Regions from separate parts of the Homo sapiens genome. Here region 2 is linked to region 1. Evidence: promoter capture Hi-C in 16 types of primary human blood cells and fetal thymus (Javierre and others, 2016). All regions are on one chromosome and are shown on one strand. The core of a region is centred on a gene start or on the middle of the fragment in contact, and the rest is flanking DNA. Distances in the headings are between cores, read along the strand shown.

Region 1 (7,968 bases), core at 3,495-5,994:
AGGTATTAAAAATGTCTAAGTTATATATATTTGCTCTAAGTTTTGTTTGCATTCTTCCTTAAATAGAAATATGGCTTACATGATATTTGTATCCATATATAGACACATAGGAGAATTACCAATTTTTAGGGATTAAGTTACACCAAACTAACATTTAGGGAATAAAGCACCTGCCTTCATTATTTGGTAAGAAAGACCTCAAAATTTCTAATAAAACAGATGGAATGTAAATACCATGACACAAATATCAGGTCAAAGGCCTAATGTGAGGGCCAATGAATATGGAAAGGGATCTGGGCCTCATATGGTTTGGAAATCCTCAGAATTTGTCCGCAAAAATTACATGTATATCTATGTATGTATATGGTCATTTATCTGAACATTTTCATAGTTTTCATCAAGGAAGTCACAAAGGATGGTAAGAACCAAGTCACTGGGTGGACCTGATAGTTTCATTGCCATCAGTCAGTTCTTTAAGGAATAGTTACTGGAGGAAGTATAAGATAAACCTAGAAATGGGCTGCCAGCACACATTAGGATGGTGCACACATGAGCTGGTGGTCTCCTGCTGCCCGTTTCTGAAGTGAAAATATATATATATATGCTGGCCATAGATGGAGGAAGCAGAATTTGAAAGAAGCAGCAAGACAGGCCTCCACACCAGATTTCTCAAGCAGTGGGATGGTGAGTGCGGGGTTGTATTTTCCTGTATCAAAGGAGAAAAGTGACAGGCGCATGAGTGTTCTAACGTTTTTCTTTCAGCAAAGCAAAGATAAAATCAGGACTTTCTTTGCTCCTGGGCCTGGACCTCTTTCAATAGTTACTCTCTGGATGGAAGACTCTAGGGATGCTGAAAGCAAGACTCAGTCGCCGCAGGCAAGAGAGCTGGCTAGGGCTGACTAAGGTTAGCTGACTGCCAGCTTACATAGAGTTGAGTTGCAATAAATTCCGTGAGATATCTCTTGTGGTTGCTGTAGGCAGAGTATGCTTCCCTTGACAGTGTCCAGTCTGGTTAGCGCTGCGCTTTAAACTTCCCAGCCTGCGCCTCGAATTTGGTGCTGCAGCTGTAGAACTACATCTTCCTAGCATGGGAGAGGGTTCCTCGAGGATTCATTTTTCTTTGGTTCCTCCGCAGCCAGCTCACCGCTAGGATCTGGTTTTGTGTCGGTTCACTGACTTCATTTCAGTTCCAGAGTTATTCTCCACTTACTCAGCTTCTGCCAAACGTACACGTGCGTGGAATTGATAATAAGGGAACCACATTAATTCGCAGTTTTAGTGCCCGGTGTTCATACGGGAGCTTATTTCTACTCAACTAAGTTTTGCTGCGCTCAGGTAATCCATCTCCACCCTTTCCCTTCCGCTACTGATTCCCTCTCTGCTCCTCCCCTGTCAGGTGAATTTCCCCCAAAACTTGCCTGGAGGTTCCTTCTAGCGCCGCTGGGGACTGCAGAGCTGGCACTTGGACCTTACCCAGCGACCCCTACTCCGAAGGGGTGACCCAGGCACAGGCGACTTTACAGGGTCTCTTTCTCTCTTGGGTGTTTCACACACATGCGCCTCTGTGCAAACACCTATGTTTTATGTGTTTTAAAGTGAGAAAGGAATACTTGAAATGCGGAAGTCAGGTTAAGGAAATGGGGTTCTTCACTGAACTCTGCCAACATCCGGTCAATATGATGGCGGTGTGTGTTTAAGCAGCTCTTTACCAAAGAGGGTAAAATCAAACTGCCTACAAGGGGCGGATTCCTCTGGGAGTCTGGGACTCTGCGAAGCAGTGGAGGCATGGCTGGAGAAAGCCACAGGTCCCCAAACCGCTAAAGCCAAAAACCGTGTGGGGAACAAATTTTGCTTTGTTTTTTCTCCGTCCCATGCTCCCGAGCAGAAATTAAAAGAGGAAAGGTCGCATGGAGCTGGTTACATTCCTGTCGGCCTTCCCCCGCTTCCCATCCCTTTAACACTTGTCTCTAATCGTTTCCAGTTCTCCTAGGATAACGGGAAAATTGTTTCCTGGCACCCCGCACTCCCACAGGACACACCCGCAATCGCACACACTTTTGATCCGTCCTGGCCAATGCCCCCACCTAGCGGTTTAAACTCGCCGGCTTTGCTTCCCTCTTCTATGGTTTCTAAGTGAGCGCTGCAGTTGACAAAAATAATTGTTTATCTAGGTGGATGGGGTGGGAGAATGGGAAGGATCCCTTAAAATGTGGTGAAAATGAGGCTTAAGGTTGGTGGCAAAATGCTAGGTGCTAGGACTGGAGGAGAAAAAGAGAGAAGGCTGTGCTTTTATCCTCAGGGTGGCTGCTGCAGCCCAGACCGCATCTAGAGGACGTCCTTGAAGAGCTGCCACCTTAGTTAAAGGAGTACCCTCACTCTCAATGCATGCATGTGTGTATGTGTGTTTTTCTTCAAAACACTTAACACTACAGAAAAGTATAAGTATTAATTATTTACTTGTTCATGTAGTTATTGTCTGTCTCTTCTAGAATGTAAACTGCTGGAAAAGAGGGTCTGAGTCTACTCCCACTGGCCTCCATACCTCGGATGCCTAGAAAAATACTCAGCATAGAGTAGGCACTCTATTTTTTGCCTGCTTGCCTGGTTTAGAGAACCGGGAATTAAGGGAACTTGGGTTTGTGCTTTATTGCCTTGGGTAAAAAGCTCTTCTTTCAAAGGATCTCAATTACTCTTCCTCTAAAACTGGGTGGAGGGATCAGATCAGATAGCCTTAGGTTCTGACACAGAATGATTCTCTTTAAAATATATGTGCGCTTAAACAGATGAATTCATTTACAATGCAGTTTTTATTAGATACACTCTAGGTGCCAAACATGGATCTAGGCTCTAGGAATTCGTAGTGGGGATCATTTAATCCTTCGAGCTGAAAATACCTTGTCCTTTCCTGGAGCTTTTCTTCATACTTTCTGATTTGCATCTCTACCCTACATTTGTTTCTGTTGAGGTCAGAGGAGAAACTGAGGACAGGGGATCCGTCCCTGGTCATGAGACCTAGGTACTGGTATTGCATGCTGCAGCTTATGGCTGACATTCCCACATATTAGTTGAAGGCAAAGGAGACACACAAGATGGTGCTGATGATGGTTCCAGTCCTCCCCGCCCCACCATCCCCCTTTTTTCTTGAATTCTGATGACCTCCTTTCTAGGTAGGCTGTTGGAAGGAACACGCTTACTGGCAACTGTTTTCCAGAGGCACTGAAGCACTGAGCAGCTGGAAGAGGATGGTGGAGCAGAAGGTTTAATTTCACATACAGTTGGCTTCTGTTTGTGATAACTTTTACATTTTCGCAGATAGCTTGTCTTTTTCCCTGTTGACTCATAGTTGAGTGAAAAACACAAATTTCTAAAACTAGATGAAAAAATAGTTTTTATTGTATCAAGAGTTAAGGACGGCAAAGTACAAAATGCAAACATTGGGCCCTCTACAGCGATATTACTGGTGCCTCCTAACCTGGGTGTGGCCATCAGGGCTGGATATGATTTTAGAGCGGAGAGGTCAGAGACCAGGGCTTCCCCGCCTAACACTGGCCTCCTAGGGTGGGAGTGGTAGGCAGGAGCCTAGGGCCAGACTGCTGGACTAAACCTGTGACCATGGCTAAGGACATGGGTCTCACTGGAGGTCAGCGCAGCAAGCTCTGATGTCCGTAGAGGCGAGAACAGGACGCCTTCTTCCCCTGACCAGAAATGCAGCTCCAGGTTGTCAGGGCTGGGAGGATGGCCCAGGGTGGGAAGCGGGGAGATAGGGCGGTAGGACCCGGCGGGAGCTTCCTTGGCCAGGAAAGGAACAGGGCGGGGGGAAAAGAGGGAGGGAGAGAGAAAAAGGGAAGGTGATGGGGAGCGGGCGTCCGCACCCGCCGCGCCGCACGAGTTGCACTGCTCTGGCGGACCGGACCTGGACTCTATATAAAGAGCCCATCTGCTCCGTAGCTCGCACGCTTCTCCCGGGCTGGTGCACGCCGCGTCCCTCCAGCTCCCCCAGACACCTGCCCCTTCCCAGTGTGCCGCGCCAGGTCCTCCAGACCCGCGCACCCAGTGGCATGGCTCCGAGTGGCTCCCGTGGGACCAGGGTGGCGGTGGCGGCGGCGCGGCCCGAGCAGCCGCAACTCCAGCCCCCGTGTCCCCCCTTTTATGGCTCCGTCTCCGCGGGGCAGCTCGTCCGAGTGGCCAGAGAGTGAAAAGAGAGGGAGGGCAGAGCTCCGGCGCGAGGCGCGGCGCAGCGCTGCTCCTAGACTTCACCCCACCCAGCTCTGGCGGCCGCTGCAGCCCCCCAAAAGTGCCCCAGCTTGGGGCGAGGGGTGGGAATGCAAGATCTCGGGACCTCTCGCTGGCCTGCAAGCTTTGGTCTCTACACCTAGGAAACTCCTGTGGGCAAAGTCTGCAGATCCAAAAGCGTCCAGGTTAGGAGACGCTCAGCCTCAAGCAACTGGGGTAAGAGATCCCATTTGGTCAAAGCCTTCTCCTCAAGCAGTACTTCACCCTCCTGCACTAGACGCCTCCAGGGAGCTGGAGCGGAGCAGGGCTCGGTGGGCCAGCTCTTAGCAACCCAGGTCTAAGACCCGGTGTGGAGAGGAACAACCACAGACGCGGCGGCTTAGCTAGGCGCTCTGGAAGTGCAGGGGAGGCGCCCGCCTGCCTTGGCTGCCGCACCCATGACCTCTAGTTTCAGCTGTGAACCTGGGCGGAGGAATAATTGAGGAACTCACGGAACTATCAACTGGGGACAAACCTGCGATCGCCACGGTCCTTCCGCCCTCTCCTTCGTCCGCTCCATGCCCAAGAGCTGCGCTCCGGAGCTGGGGCGAGGAGAGCCATGGAGGAACCGGGTGCTCAGTGCGCTCCACCGCCGCCCGCGGGCTCCGAGACCTGGGTTCCTCAAGCCAACTTATCCTCTGCTCCCTCCCAAAACTGCAGCGCCAAGGACTACATTTACCAGGACTCCATCTCCCTACCCTGGAAAGTACTGCTGGTTATGCTATTGGCGCTCATCACCTTGGCCACCACGCTCTCCAATGCCTTTGTGATTGCCACAGTGTACCGGACCCGGAAACTGCACACCCCGGCTAACTACCTGATCGCCTCTCTGGCGGTCACCGACCTGCTTGTGTCCATCCTGGTGATGCCCATCAGCACCATGTACACTGTCACCGGCCGCTGGACACTGGGCCAGGTGGTCTGTGACTTCTGGCTGTCGTCGGACATCACTTGTTGCACTGCCTCCATCCTGCACCTCTGTGTCATCGCCCTGGACCGCTACTGGGCCATCACGGACGCCGTGGAGTACTCAGCTAAAAGGACTCCCAAGAGGGCGGCGGTCATGATCGCGCTGGTGTGGGTCTTCTCCATCTCTATCTCGCTGCCGCCCTTCTTCTGGCGTCAGGCTAAGGCCGAAGAGGAGGTGTCGGAATGCGTGGTGAACACCGACCACATCCTCTACACGGTCTACTCCACGGTGGGTGCTTTCTACTTCCCCACCCTGCTCCTCATCGCCCTCTATGGCCGCATCTACGTAGAAGCCCGCTCCCGGATTTTGAAACAGACGCCCAACAGGACCGGCAAGCGCTTGACCCGAGCCCAGCTGATAACCGACTCCCCCGGGTCCACGTCCTCGGTCACCTCTATTAACTCGCGGGTTCCCGACGTGCCCAGCGAATCCGGATCTCCTGTGTATGTGAACCAAGTCAAAGTGCGAGTCTCCGACGCCCTGCTGGAAAAGAAGAAACTCATGGCCGCTAGGGAGCGCAAAGCCACCAAGACCCTAGGGATCATTTTGGGAGCCTTTATTGTGTGTTGGCTACCCTTCTTCATCATCTCCCTAGTGATGCCTATCTGCAAAGATGCCTGCTGGTTCCACCTAGCCATCTTTGACTTCTTCACATGGCTGGGCTATCTCAACTCCCTCATCAACCCCATAATCTATACCATGTCCAATGAGGACTTTAAACAAGCATTCCATAAACTGATACGTTTTAAGTGCACAAGTTGACTTGCCGTTTGCAGTGGGGTCGCCTAAGCGACCTTTGGGGACCAAGTTGTGTCTGGTTCCACAGGTAGGTCGAATCTTCTTTCGCGGTTTCTGGGTCCCAGCGAGGCTCTCTCTCCTGGGCAAGGGCAATGGATCCTGAGAAGCCAGAATAGTCCTGAGAGAGAGCTCTGAAAGGAGAAGTGTTGAAACTAAATGTAGAGCTTCCCTGCCCAGGAGGAGGCTCACTTCCTCCCCTCAAGCCCCGGGCTCAGCACTGACCCTGCGGCAGCCAATCCCAAAGGGGGTTGCAACTTTTAAAAATTGATAATGGAAGGGAATCCCTGCCCTGCTTTGGTATCGTGGATAATGCCCACTAGAAGCAGTGTACTTGTAATTGTTGTCTGAAGCCTGTCTGAGACAGATCTACATACAGCCTGGCAGTACTTGAACTAGACGCTTAATGCCCTGTGTTTTTGGGGGGAGAACTTTGTGTTACAGCTTAATTTAAGAACAGTTACTTTGGCATCATTCAGTCTTCACTTTTTGTCTATTTAAACTTGGTTGGAGAAACTTGTGGATTTGGTGCTTCAAACCCTATGTGTGGCTTGGATGGCGCAGAGAAACCTTGAAGAGTTAACAGCAAAATTCTGATGCTGAGATCTCTATTTTTATTATACTTGAAACTATATGGGGGTGGGTGGGTGGGAATGGGAGATGAGGAGTGTTAAACTGAGAATCAACACCTATGATTGTTTGTTTTCTGCAGATTTACAATTTTGTAATTCCTGTTTAGCGATTGTCAAGCCACAACTCTAACAAACAAACCATTATGTGTGCTAGTGCCGAAGTCTGCAGACTGCTTTATTTTTTCTCTTAATTTCATGTACCTGTCACTTTACACATTTAAATCCCCATAAATGAAGGGTATGATGGGTGACTCAGCCCACACTGCTGCTATATTTCTTACTAATGCAATTGGTAAAACCGATTAGTATTGGAAATATACTGTTTCTTAACAAGAAAAGTGTCTTTATTTCTTATCCAATTTAGTGAGATGTGAAGGAGACTGATGACATGGGGATAGTTCTTACACAATTGAGGAATGGGGTGGGGGCAATAGGAGGATGTATATTTTGACTTGTAAAAAAATCTTAAAATGCATGAAACTTTTATCTGATAGTCATTTGCACTCTCCTTCCCATCTGTGATTCCTTGTGTGCTAACATATAAAGAAACCAAGAGAACTATCTTCCTTCTCCAGAAACCTTAAAAATACAGTTAAGGGCCCTAAAAACGATATTGAAAAGAAAATAAACTTGTTTCTTTTTTGTTGTTGTTGTTATTGAAGTTTGGGCAGGAGAAAAGATTGCTAGAAAATGACATATAAGAACTTTAGAAAAGCTTAGAGAAACTAAAATTGAGCCTGTTTTTGTCTTGTTTTTTGTTTGTTTAAAAAAGAAAAAATTGCAGAACCAAACCTCAGACTTACTAACAATCAGGAAACTGGCAAGCTTTTGACCTTTGTAAATTTGTTACCAACCTGATATCTCAATTAATATAATATCTGGAATACTTTAAATTTATCAGTCTTTTCAAATTTCAAGAATACTTAGTTATTTCAAATTTCCTCTGAGAGCTCCCTAATACAGGATAAAGTCATGAAATAAAATATGAAAAAAATGTATATTTTAATAAGAAGTAGCCCTGAGGGATTATCTGCACGGAAAAAAATGTATATGTACAGCATTTAACATGCCAAAGAAAATTCACACTCCTTTCCTCAGAGGGCATTCTGCAGTTGATACCTTTTGTCTGCAGAAGCAAGTTGTCTTTGTGAAATGGATTCACTCCTTGCTTGAAACTCCCCAGTCCTGTTTGTCAGACAATAAATACATTGAGCTGAAGTACACTGCTTGCCTACTGTGCAGACCTTCACCTTGAGTAATCACTCTTGAAAATATACTATTCAAAGATTCACACATAAG
Region 2 (7,968 bases), core at 1,470-3,969, 1.8 Mb before region 1:
TTCGTTTCAGTATACTATTGTCATTCACTGAATGCCCAAGAACAGGGAATCTATCAAAAATGATTAAGATCATGTCAAAAGGACACAAGCACTAATTTGAAAGGGTATGCATTGGCTAAAGATGTGGTAATAGGAGCATTAAAAAGGTAATAATAATGATAGCAATACACTGATGCACACCAAATATGTAAAAATCCATGAGTTCATAAAGATGTTCCAAAAAAGAAAGTAATCAACCACCTCTGGAGAGTACTAGATCAATTAATGTATTCTGAAAATTACTAAAGAAAAAGTGAAATATTAAACTTCATTGCTTTTTTAATACATATTTAATACATGATATTTTTAATACATATTTGCAGCCTCTGTGTTACCAAAGTGGATTTGGCCATATTTGTAATGTAAGGCTTCAACACATTTTCCTATGATGTGAGCTTTGCCTGCTAAGATGATTCTGAAACTAACTTTGCCCAATTTTGCTTTTTCTATAATTTCATATGAATGCAATCATTCAGTGTGGTCTTTTGTATTTGACTTCTTTCGTACAGCACTTTGTTTTTGATATTCATCCATGTAGGAAAATTTTTTATTGTTTTTTATTGCTGAATAGTATTCCACTGCATGTGCTCATCACAATTTGCTTACCCATTCACTAGCGCTTTTCCTGCATCTGCTGAAAGGATTGTTTTTCCCCCTTTATTCTATTAATCCTGCCAATTACATTGATTGATTCTCAGATATTAAAAAAGCAGCTTTGCATTCCCAAGATAAGCCCCACAGGTCATGATGTATTGTCCCTTTAAATGTTGTTGAGTTTCATTTACTAAAATTTTGTTCACGACTTTTGTGTCTATGTTTATGAGTGATATTGGTCTGTAACTCTCTTTTGAAGTCTTTCACTGGTTTTGGTATCAGAGTAAATCTGGTCTCATAAAATGAATTCAGAAATATTTTTGCAATGCTCATTTTATGCCTTGCAGAACTTTGAGAAATATTACGCATAAAGTGTAACATGACGGGTGTCATTCAAATATATGTCTCAAATATAAAATAATCAGTTTTTGCCTTGTTCTTTCTTTTCCTAATTTCCGTAACAAACATGTCCTATTCGTCTTCACATCTAGTTTGAAGTTAGCTGAATTAGTGAGTGATTTATAATCACAGATTTCAGAAAATTAGAGCTAAGTGATTTTAGGGACTGTTGTCACTATATATCTAGGGGGGGAAACTGAGGCCTTTAGAAGTTGCCACGCTCTTCCAGTACAGAGTACCTTCCCACGCTTTACAGATTCCCACCATGTAACATTCATTAAAAGCCTTTATGGGTAGGAAATGAATAAGGTACCTGCTGTGTATATATTTACATTATAAAGTTTACGTATTCATTCTTACTCTTTTTCCTTCCTATGAAGACACACACTGTTCTTATTCTTACAATCTCAAAGAGAGAGCAGCGAAACAATGAAACTTCAGGATTGTGTGGCCTGGAGGCTACTAGTTGAACTGGGCATGCTCAGTCGCCAGGCAGATTTTTTTCGGTGAAGTGGAAACTACAACAGCGCGTACCGCGCGCGGAGGTGGGCGTGCCCTCGTGGAATTTAGAACGTTGCCTCAGCCAATGGGGCCTCGCGGCCGGCTGGCGGGGCTCCTCATTGGAGCAGCAGGGAGGCGAGCAGAGGGCCCCCAGAGGGAGCCGCGGAGGTGCAGGTCGAAGAGGCCGGGCTACGTCGTGCCCTGCGCGTGAGCAGCTGCAGAGGCAGAGGCAGCATCCAGCGGCGGCGCCAGCAGTTCCAGTCCGTTGCTTTACTTTTTGCTTCACCGACATAGTCATTATGCCGAAGAGAAAGGTAAGTCTTACCAAAAAAAGATTTCAAAAGCCTTCAAATTCTGCTTACAGTAAATGCTGGCATTGCAATGGCTCGCGCAGAACGCGCGCGGTAGTAACCCGGGGATTGGGAATCTTTGCTCCTCCACGCTTGTTTTTAGATGCCTGTTGCAGACGTTCCTCTCTCTGTCCCCCCTACCCACTCCGTCCTCATCGATCTCTTAATGTTACTTTCTCTCCAGTGACGCGGTTTCCCTTCTTTTTGAACTCATTCTCGCTGGAATGTTTTCCACCCCCAACAACAAGAAGCAAAAGCGGCTTTCCATTCCGAAAGGGAGTTTCCTCTTTGCAAACTGCCAGGTTGCGAATTAGTGTGAAGGGAAAACAGCGAGAGGAGAAAAACAAGTACAAGCGTAAGGAGAGGGAAGAAAATAAATCAGGCAAATGTTGGGATTATTCCCATGCGGCTGTACTCGCGGGCTGGGTGCGCTGCGGTGGCTCCTAGGCTAAGGGAAAGAGAAAGCCATGTTTAAAATAGCGCTCACCCTCCTGCTCGCCTCCGCTGCAGACCCGTATGTACCAACTCCAGTGTCAATCAGGGCTGGGGCCGGCGAGGCGGGGCCTGGCGGCCTGGACCTACCCGCAGTTCGGGGCGGGAGCGGTGGAGTTGGCAGCGTGGAAGACGGGACGGCGCCGGGGCGTCCAATATGGCTCGTCCAAGGTCAGGGGGCCACCAGGTCCTCCCCAGCGACTGGAACCCACACTCGGTTGGGGAAGGCGGGGTCCGCGCGCTATCCGCCCCTCTGCGCGTCTAGCGAACTGGAGTCATTTTTGTCTTGTCTTCCGCCCCTTGCGGACTGTCCTCTTCTGCGCAGGCCCCGGACACCAACTACTACATTCAGGGACACAAATCTCCCTCGGGGTGGGGCTTCGACTTGTCCCGGGGAGGGAAGGGAAAGGTTTCCTCCTCCCTGAGAAATCAGTGAGGATTTCTCAGCTGGTTCCTAAGCAAGTGCTTTGCACCCTCCCACCGCCAGCCTCAGTGTTTCCAACAGTGTCAACGAGTGTGGGTATTAAATTTGAAGCAAAATTACACCTAATGTCTTGCTTTATCAAAGACCATGGACTAATTTGTGTGTGAGAGTGACTGCATTATTTTAAAATACTGAAGTTTTAAAAATTCAAAAGCTTTCCCCTTCTTATATGTTATTACTAAAAATTGGGTAGAAACTTGTCTCCTACCCCACTTTTTAAAAATAATTGAAAGTGTTTAAAAGTCTTAGAGTTTGTTGTGCACATACTGTGTCCCTCACGCTGTGCAGAATTTGACTTGCATTATCTCATTTAATCCTGAAAACAGCTTGAGCGGTGTTACCCCCATTCAGCTGGGACTTAAAGACATAAATTGTCCTGCATCTCACCAACCAATAACTACTAGTAAAGATTTAATCAGATGCTATAGATGCCAAAGTCTTATTCTCACCCATTTCGTACTCACTTACGAAAGGGTGGGTCAAGAGGAATTAAGGAAATCCAAAGGTACTCCCAGTTTAAGAAGACAGATGGCATATTAAGAGCACTAATACTTGAGATTTATTATTTAAACTTAATTTTATGAAGGTATTTTCTAGCCCTGTTTTACTAGAATTAGGATATTAAGTGATGTCACCATTTTCAGCATTTTGACTGAGGGTTAATGATGGATTGGAAATTCTAGTAGAGACAAAGGAACTAATCATCAAGATACGGGTTACAGAGTAAGTGAGCTGGAGGCCATCTTTTTTTCCTGGGAATTATAACCATTGTTTACATAAACAGTAGGTTAGGTGTGCACACTTTATGTATAATGGACCCTGACGATGGAACCCTTCCTTGCTGTTTATTCAAGGGCCAGAGCTGCTGAAACCATTATTCTTACTTCCCCTGTCTGCCTCTCTCAAGGAGACGGAAGGAAAAAAAAAAAAAACTAAAATAACAGTAAAATTACAGCTACAGTTTTATTTCCCTGGAAGGCAGGGAACCCCCATGCATAAGCTAGCCAATGGTCCTGAGACTAGGGGCAAAACTGTGTACAGGCACCTGTGTGTCATTCCTGAGGACATCAGAGTGTTCTCCGGTGATGGAAAACCTCTCCTTGATTAATAGGAAGGCTTTCCATTTATACCTGAAGCCTAACGACCTCAGTTGGTACCTGGGCAGGAACAACCTCAGATTAAACACGGCGATCATGGCCATCCATCTATCAGTCAAGTCTTAGAGCAGCCTCATGGAATCCTGAAGTTCACTGGAACTTATGTGAGGAACCACTGTCATTAGGTAAAGCCTGCTTAGATACAAAAAAGAACTGGAGACAATCCATGCATAGCTCTTCAAGATCTTCAAAGCTGGGGTAACTGCCAAAGCATTTACATACTACACAATATTTTTCTTGACTAAAGAATTGTCTGCTCTACAATATAATAAGCTTTTAAAATGTCCCCCTAGTACTTTTTTGCCTTCTTAGCCCCCTGTATCAACCTTTCCTAGAAATCAAGAAATGTTATTTAATGAACATCTGAGTAAGTTGTTCTGCAGAGCAAGAAGTGGTACAGATAAAGTCAATGAAAACATCTGGAATCCTAGCCCTGTTGTAATGCTGTAGGGACATACAGTTTTTGCCCTCTTGGAACTTGTGTTTAATTCAATGAGGTGATAAGACTAGCAGCACAAAACAGTTGAATAACATTAAAACTGTGTATGTGTTCCAGAATGTGTAGTTATAGATCCCACAAGCAGTAGGACAGATAAGGAAAGTTAACTTTAGGCTGGTCTTAAAAGTGTGGGTAGGACTCAAATATACAAAGAAGTCAGAGTCATTTTTTGTTACCAGGTATTCAAGTGTGTCTCCTGATTGTATCTTAACATGACCAGGCCTCAGTTTTGCAACTTCAGGGCTATAATATCATCTGAATTAATATTAAAATGTTCTGATGACATTTCTTTGTAAGTTTTATGTGTATCTTTGTGTGTGATAGTCATAACTACATTAAGCCAAGTGGTTTTTTATAAATGCCATAGTATTTTGTGAAGTAATACAGCACTTAGTGAAGAGTTCTTCAGTGCATATTATCTCTAAGTTTGTGAGATGTAAATAAAAGTGAGTTTCCTGTATTTTTTAGATAATGGATGGTGGGTGAGTGGAATTACAGGGGAAATGATAACATTCATGGACTCAGTGGTGAGACAATGAGTGATTGAGTTCTAGACTGTTCTGGCCAGACATCCACAAATGCCCGCAGTGGTCATGTTGTTATGTGATGATTTGATGTTCTACGAAGAGACATGAGCCAGCGAGGCCTAGAGTCACAGTCCTGGCATGATTAGCGACAGGAAACACATTTTTACCTCTTTCTTTTTATTAATATTTTCCAGTTCCTTATCACTAGAACTATTTTAAATGTCTAGTGTATCACATCAGAAATTCTCTAATGAGGCAATTTTCCATGAATGTGGCATGTAAGCAGTCATGTCTCTTGACACTTAAAGGTTTAAGGAAGGAAAGCCCATCTGCCTCTAGCTTTGAAACTCAAAATTAGGTTTTTATCTGTTTCCTTAAAATGGAAGGCCCAGTAGCAGTAGCATTGGGCTTATTAGCACAGGGGATGCTTAACTAACCATGATCAAGGTTTGTGATAGTTAATTTTGAAAAGAATATTACTTGTCATAACACCAAAAACAGAAACTGTAAATGAAAACACAGATAAATTTGGCTACATGAAAATGAATATTTCAATATGGGAAAAAAAACTGTTAACAAAATTTTTAAATTTATGAAAAACTGGGAAAAAATATTTGTACCACATATCACTGAAAAAGGTTTGCTGTTTTAAAAAGATAGCATCTCACATTTCCTTATGGAAAAGATGTATATCTTTATAGGAAAATAATGAAGACTCAAGTAGACAGAAATGTTTGGTTTTACTAGAAATCAAAGAAATGTACAATATTAAGAATAATGAGATGTAATTTTTAAAATAACCAATCTGGTTTAAAAAAAGATTAAAAACCTACTGGCTAGTGCTGAGGGATATAGACACTCAGCACTCTCAGTTATGAGAGTATAATTTCCTTTAAAACATTTATTGAGTATAATCTACTTACTATAAAGTCCATTCATCCATTCGAAGTATACAATTCAGTGATTTTTAGTAAAGTATAGAGTTGCGCAACCATTGTCATAATCCAGTTTTGTAACATTTCCATCATTCCACAAAGGTCCCTCATGGAGTTTATAGCCAATCCCCACTCCCAGCCTAGCCCTAGGCACTAATCTACTTTTGCTGTATCTAGATTTGCCTTTTCTGGAAATTTTATTTAAAAGAAATGATACAATATGTAGTCTTTTGTGACTGATTTTTTCACTCAGCATGATGTTTTTGAGATCAGTTTGTGTTGTAGCATATATCAGTACATCATTCTTTTTTATTGTCCAGTAGTGTTCCATTGTATGGATATACTCATTTTTGTTTATCCTTTCACAAGGTGATGGACATTTGGATTGTTCCAGGTTTGGATTATTATCAATAATGCTGCTGTGAATATTTGTAAATAAGTGATTGCATGGACATATATTTTCATTTCTCTTGGGAAGATTTCTAAGAGTAGAACTGGCAGGTGGTATGAAAGTCTATGTTTATCATTTTTTTTTTTGGAGGCGGAGTCTGGCTCAGTCGCCCAGGCTGGAGGGCAGTAGCGCGATCTCAGCTCACTGCAAGCTCCGCCTCCCGGGTTCACACCATTCTCCTGCCTCAGTCTCCCGAGTAGCTGGGACTACAGGCGCCCGCCACTACGCCCGGCTAATTTTTTTGTATTTTTAGTATACACGGGGTTTCACCGTGTTAGCCAGGATGGTCTTGATCTCCTGACCTCGTGATCCGCCCGTCTCGGCCTCCCAAAGTGCTGGGATTACAGGTGTGAGCCACGGCGCCCGGCCGTCTATGTTTAACGTTTTAAGGAACCTCCAAACTGTTTTCCAAAGTGCATGCGTTCTAATTTCAACATACTTGTTCATACTTGGTATTGTTGATTTTTTGCTTATAGAGATTCTTATGAATTTTAATTTATATTTCTGTAATAACTACTGACAATAAGCATCTTTTCACGTGTTTACTAGCATAATGTGTATCATATGTGAAATGTCTATTCAGATATTTTGCCCATTTTTAATTGGGTTGTCTTATTATTGAAAGAGTTCTTTATAAGTCTGAGATACAAGTCCCTTATCAGATATATGATTCGTAGATATATTCTCCCAGTTTGTGACTTAAAAATATATTTTTTTCTTAATGGTGTCTTTTGAAGAACAAAAGTTTTTAATTTTGATGAAATCCATTTAGTGTTAATATCTAATAAATATTTGCCTAATTCAAGGTTATGGATGTTTTCTCATAGAGGTTTTATACTTTTAACTCTTATATTTAGGTATGTTATCCATTTTGAATTAATTTTGTGTGTGGTATGAGGTAAGGGTTTAAATTCATTTTATTGCTTGTAGAAATCCAATTACCTCAGCACCATTTGTTGAAAAGACCATCCTTTCTCTACTGAATTGCCTACGCACCTTTGTTGAAGCTCCTTCATAAATGTAAAACTTTATTTCTGGACACTCAATTATGTTTTATGGTCTGTATGTCGTTCTTATACCAGTGCTACACTATCTTGGCTAGGTGAGCAGTGGCTCACACCTGTAATCCCCACAGTTTGAGAGGCTGAGGCAGGAGGATCACTTGAGGTCAGGAGTTTGAGACCAGCTTGGGCAACATAGCGAGACGTCATCTCTACAAAAAATTTAAAAACTACGCTATCTTGGTATCTTGATTATTATGGTTTTATAGTAAGATTTTAAATCTGGTAATGTCAGTCCTTCACTTTTTGTTATTTTTTCCCAAAATTGTTTCTGGCTATTCAGTCTTTTATGTTTTCATGTAAATTTTAGAATCACTTTATACATTTCTACAAAAATAAAGCCTGCCATTATTTTGATAGAGATTGAATTGAATCTATAAATCAGTTAGGAAAGAATTGCTTTCTTAGCAATATTGAGTTTCCCAGTCTGAATATGAAAGGGCCTGACATCCATAAATGCTTGCTCCATTTGATTGAGT

Evidence for each region. Contacts are between HindIII fragments. The CHiCAGO score rates a contact against its expected background, and 5 or more counts as called.
Region 2: the fragment with the promoter of HMGN3-AS1 here is called in contact with the fragment with the promoter of HTR1B in region 1 in 1 of 17 cell types (endothelial precursors); the score reaches 6.1 in endothelial precursors.

What each region holds. Positions count from the first base shown.
Region 1 is chr6:77,460,267-77,468,234 of GRCh38, reverse strand. HTR1B (5-hydroxytryptamine receptor 1B) reads left to right here and starts at 4,744. Exons shown (of 1, transcript NM_000863.3): 1 at 4,744-7,311. The coding sequence starts at 4,832. The coding sequence ends at 6,004. The region is part of intron 5 of LOC105377864; the gene reads right to left. RefSeq lists enhancers at 1,695-1,754, 1,965-2,014 and a silencer at 5,734-5,878. The HindIII fragment of the contact is 3,027 bases long and covers 4,360-7,386 here.
Region 2 is chr6:79,228,425-79,236,392 of GRCh38, reverse strand. HMGN3-AS1 (HMGN3 antisense RNA 1) reads right to left here and starts at 2,719. Exons shown (of 2, transcript NR_040671.1): 1 at 2,466-2,719; 2 at 1-2,331. It overlaps HMGN3 (high mobility group nucleosomal binding domain 3), which reads left to right and starts at 1,711. Exons shown (of 7, transcript NM_001201363.2): 1 at 1,711-1,847. The coding sequence starts at 1,833. RefSeq lists enhancers at 1,593-2,382, 2,383-3,173, 6,191-6,691 and a silencer at 2,386-2,435. The HindIII fragment of the contact is 3,424 bases long and covers 1-3,015 here.